2 separate regions of the Homo sapiens genome follow, and region 1 is linked to region 2. Evidence: promoter capture Hi-C in human tissues and cell types (Jung and others, 2019). All regions are on one chromosome and are shown on one strand. Each heading gives the region's core, a stretch centred on a gene start or on the middle of the fragment in contact. The rest is flanking DNA. Distances are from core to core; before and after follow the strand shown.

Region 1 (2,700 bases), core at 94-2,593, 240 kb after region 2:
AATGCTGAGCAGAATAAGAGTGAAGTACACTATACTTAAAATGGAAATAGATTAAAAACAACATTACTGAAACCCTTCTCAAGGCAAAATGTGTCTCCTTTTGATAATAAGCTGCATATACTATCAGGTCCTCTCTTTCTTTATATGGTGAACATATATTTTTAATGAAATGTCTCTCATTTTTTTAATAACAGATTTATTGAGATATAATTCACACACCATGAAATTCACCCTTACAAAACGTACAATTCAGTGGTCTTCAGTATGCTTACAATGTTTTGCAACCATCACCACTATCTAGTTTTAGAACACTTCATCACCCCAAAAGGAAATCTTGTACCTATTAGTAGTCACCGCCTTTTCCCTTCCTCCCAGCCCCTAACAACCACTAATCTACTTCCTGTCTCTACGGATTTGCCTACTCTGGACATTTCATATAAATAGGTTAATACGATGTGTCCTTTTATACACAAATGTTCATAGCAGCATTACTCATAAAAGCCCCAAAGCGAAACACCTCAAGTGTCCATCAACCGATGAATGGATAAACAAAATGTAATATATCCACACAATAGAATCTTATTCGTCAATAAAAAGGAATGAAGTACTGATACATGCTATAACAGAGATGAACTTCGAAAACATGCTAAGTGAAAGAAGCCAAATCCAAAAACAATAAAAACACATATTGTATCCTCACCCTTTTTGCATTTTAGTGAGCAATCATTGCATATGAATGTTTATGGGAAAAATCAATGTGTGCTAAATCATTGTATTCCAGTAAATAGATTGGACTTAAAACTTGATACAGAAGTTGCAAATAAGTGGGATTGAGTTTGATTATTATATAGAAAATAATTACATGATTCATTTAAGAATAATAATATCCACCATTTATTGAGCACTTACTATGAGCCTGTGTGCCAAACATTTCATGCATTTCTCATTTAATTCTCACAATAATCCTGTGAGGTAGAAGCTATTAGGTTGAATCATATGAACTTGCCAATATATGATAATTTCTAAGAGTTGGGAATTTTTGAGGATGTGAATGGTACCACTTTGAATTCCTAAGATGTAATATAATATCTAACACATAGCAGGCACTTGATTCATTATTTTAAATTGAAAGAATAAAGATTTTTTTAAAGCTTTCCAATATATGATAATTTCTGACTTTCAGAAATAGCAATTTTATATGCTATTATATAGCATATATAATAAGGTTCAACCTTATTATGTTACCCCCACTTTACATATGAGGATAAATGAGGACTCATATGAAGACATGAGATAAAGACTTTCCCAAAGTCAAGCAGTTACCAAGTAGTAGAGCGAGACTGAACCTCAGCGCTGTTTCTCTAAAACCAGGACACCCTCATAAGCAACTAATTACATAACAAAGCAATACATGATTCACAGTTGAAATAGGCACTTGCCTATCCGCAGTTATTTTGTTGTTTTCTAATTGTCATTTTCATCAGCCAGACACAACAGCCAATTGTGGCAAATGTCCAGCTTTGCTGGCTAACATCACACATGACTTGATTCAGTACAACTTTTGTCAGAAAAGGTATTCTCACCTATTCTCATTGCCTTCTTTTCCAAAGTGAAAAGATTTCACTCATTTTTTTCTTAATTTTCTTCCAAGTCACGCTAGCTAGTAAGTTGCATTTAAAGATGTTAAGAATATTTAAAAGTGAATTCTTTTTCACCTACTGAGACACATTCCAGAATAGTCTGAAACTTTGACATGCAAATACCAGACTGTGAATCTGATTAATAAGAAACCTATGCAGATGGGTTTGTAACTGATTAGGCCTGACCACTGTTATATGGCAATGATGACACTGTGTTAAAAGAGGTAGGATTGTTATTCTTAATTTAGGATGGTCCTCTTTTAACTACCTGTTAAAAGAAGTAGAATTGTTATTTTTAGATCAGAAAAATGAAGATTTTTTCTTCCTCTTGCTTCTTTGGTCTGTCTCTAGTTTCTTCCAAGCAATCTTTCAAAGAAGTGAGTGAGAGCTACATACATGTGGACCAGATGGTGGAGTTCTACCTCCAGTTCTGCCAGCAGTTACTGTGTGAAAGTGAAGCATTAATCTTTGTATCTATCTATATTTCTGATATGAGCTAAGAACTAGAATGACATAATCCTATTTCTGACAGGTAAACAGATCCAGAGAGAAGTCTTTATCACACATTAGAATTATCATCAATGTATTTTTTCATTTTATATGAAATTGTCAGTGCAGAAGTGAAGCTATCAAACTCAGAGAGAGCCCCTAGAGGTGAGGTTAGGATGGAAATAACTATTTTTTCTGAGCTCTGGAGATTATTTCTACCCAGAGTTCTGAATCATCTAAAAAGGAGAATGACATGGAGTGATACAAAATCAAAACATGGCCAGTGACCTCCTCAGACACTCTGTTCTCATCCACATGCATCAGGATCAGCCTCAGGTACCTGATTAGACCCCCAAGTAACAATTCCAACTTAAAGCATTAGTAGTGATTTTTATTTTTGAATTCTCTTTCAAACATCTCTGTTTTCTCTCCCCTAGGCTCATTTCCAAGATTCCTCTCATCAGGGTATTATTTTATCATCTTCCTGTCTCCTACCACTTTCAAAATTCTCCCCTGCTTTCAAGAACCATTGATCTCTGGAGCCCAGAAGTCAATCTCACTCATACCCCTT
Region 2 (2,700 bases), core at 154-2,653:
TTAAGTTTTTAATGCTTCTTTTGAGTATTCCCCTAAAAGACTAATAAGAATATAAACTAGTTCATAAGGTTCTATTAAAGCGTGAAAATGAAACAAATGTAAGATATTTGGTACAATGCCTGCTACATAGTCAATACTTCACAAGTAATATACATACCATGAGGGTGTATGGAACTTATCCACATATTATACATTTCTTATTTTAGTTGTTTAATGAAAATAATTGTAATTCTTTTCATTTCTGCCAAACTGTTTCCTATCCATGTGTCTTATGCAAGTACCTGCAAGAAAAAGTTGAGGGTTTATCTGTTCTACACCCAGAGTACCCAATAGAACATCTTGGATGCATGTTATTGAAGGCTTAATAATTCTAAATATTCTTTATATATAACAAATGCTTTTGTAAATGAAAAATCCATCATGCAATTTTGATGATCAAAGATTAATCAGGCTGGGTGTTGGGGGCTCATGCCTGCAATCCCAACACTTTGGGAAGCCAAGGCAGGTGGATCACGGGGTCAAGAGATCGAGACCATCTTGGCCAACATGGTGAAACCCTGTCTCTACTAAAAATACAAAAGTAAGCTGGGTGTGATGGCGCAAACCACCTTACTCGGGAGGCTGAGGCAAAAGAATCGTTTGAACCCAGGAGGTGGAGGTTGCAGTGAGCAGAGATCATGCCACTGTACTCCAGCCTGGCGACAGATTGAGAATCTGTCAAAAAAAAAAAAAAAGATAAATCAAAACTTCCTACTCATAATGCATATACTGTAAGACATACAGCAAAATGTGTTTTTACCCTTTAAAGGCAGTGAGTCATGGGTAAGTACTTTCGCTGGAGGCTGTGGAATAAGATCTGACAGAGTTTAGAACTTCTTGGGATCTGACCATCTGCCCGACCATCCGAGATGCACACATGGGATCAGAGTCATCCTCATTACAGATGGGACATCCTTCCCCAAATGAGTGCTTCCTTCTAATTCCTTCCCAACATTTCACCTGACCAGGACATTCTTTGACAACAAAAGATACATTCACATTATAAAAATCATCCCCCATGATTTGCAGACAGCAATCTGCAGGTAGGAGGGAGAGTCACATTTAAAAACAAAATGTCAGAGAGTCCTGTGACCAGTGCTTTGTAAAAGACACTGCATAGACCAGGGACAAAGGTGACTCCCCACTAATGAAGAAATATGACATGCATTTCCAATGGAAACACAGGAGCACAGCAGGAAAAGGAAATGGGTTATTTTCTCTGTTTTGGAGTATTTAACTGGAAACACAATGATGTAATTACATGATTAATTTTTCCAGTAGGTAAATAATAACAAGGAAATAATGATGTGGTGGCAATGGGCCTTCAGGAGGGTATAAAGGGACTACAGGCCCAGGAGACTTCCAAACACAAGAACTTCACTCTCCTAGAAACCCAACTAGATCCTTCACCCTCTGACACCATGGTAAACTCCTGTTGTGGCTCCGTGTGCTCTCACCAAGGCTGTGGCCGAGACCTCTGCCAGGAGACCTGCTGCCGCCCCAGCTGCTGTGAGACCACCTGCTGCAGGACCACCTACTGTCGCCCCAGCTGCTGTGTGTCCAGCTGCTGCAGGCCCCAGTGCTGCCAGTCTGTGTGCTGCCAGCCCACCTGCTGCCGCCCCAGATGCTGCATCTCCAGCTGCTGTCGCCCCAGCTGCTGTGTGTCCAGCTGCTGCAAGCCCCAGTGCTGCCAGTCTATGTGCTGCCAGCCCACTTGCTGCCGCCCCAGATGCTGCATCTCCAGCTGCTGTCGCCCCAGCTGCTGTGTGTCCAGCTGCTGCAGACCCCAGTGCTGCCAGTCTGTGTGCTGCCAGCCCACCTGCTGCCACCCCAGCTGCAGCATCTCCAGCTGCTGCCGCCCCTCTTGCTGTGAATCCAGCTGCTGCCGCCCCTGCTGCTGCCTGCGTCCAGTCTGTGGCCGAGTCTCCTGCCACACCACTTGCTATCGCCCAACCTGTGTCATCTCCAGCTGCCCCCGCCCCTTGTGCTGTGCCTCCTCTTGCTGCTGAGCCCACTGCCCTGGCTCATCTCTCCCTTCACTGCAGGCCCACAGTTGTAGACCATTCTTCTGTGCTGACTATTAGGACACATGGAGTGGGATTGATGTCATTCAGCAGGGTGGACTTCATGTTTCCAATGAGCCCATCACCATCCCACTGACTCTGTGAGAACATTCTGGTTCATTTTAAACTCCCTCCCTTGCTTTCTTTCTCTTCCAGTCATGGCACCAAATATGAAATAATTTGTAATCCACTAGCTAAGAAATTATTCCAATCCTCTAAATTCCTCATTTTTTAAATCGTTTTGAGCCTACAGAATATCCTTCCCAGTGAGGTACACATTATCTCCATTTCAAACATATTATTTGTCTGTCAGCCTTTCAGTCATTCTTTTCTCTTGGAAAGGTAGGAGGCTGCCCCTCCCATGCTCTCCTGCTTTCTCCCTGTTCTCTCTTTGTCTCTGTTTGTTCAAGTTTGCCAGAATTTTTCTATTTTATTGGTTCTTTATCTTTATTGTGTTCACAAAATATATTGTATTAAACTTTTCATTTAGAAATCTTTTATTGTTTTTTGCATTTTTTTGTGATAATTTTCACTGAGTTTACTGATTCATGGGGGTGAGGTGGGAATGCAGTAGAAGGGGATTCTCAAAGCATGATTC

The links. Contacts are between HindIII fragments. The study calls those that stand out against the background at their distance.
Region 1: a contact is called between a fragment that was not itself captured here and the fragment with the promoter of KRTAP4-11 in region 2, in 2 of the 25 tissues and cell types used here (lymphoblastoid cells and mesenchymal stem cells).

What each region holds. Positions count from the first base shown.
Region 1 is chr17:40,873,055-40,875,754 of GRCh38, reverse strand. The region is part of intron 1 of LOC105371777 (a long non-coding RNA gene); the gene reads right to left. Among named protein-coding and RNA genes, the nearest start is that of KRT12, 7.2 kb to the right of the region's middle. The HindIII fragment of the contact is 4,870 bases long and covers 1-2,700 here.
Region 2 is chr17:41,117,076-41,119,775 of GRCh38, reverse strand. KRTAP4-11 (keratin associated protein 4-11) reads left to right here and starts at 1,403. Exons shown (of 1, transcript NM_033059.4): 1 at 1,403-2,595. The coding sequence starts at 1,461. The coding sequence ends at 2,048. The HindIII fragment of the contact is 2,482 bases long and covers 1,341-2,700 here.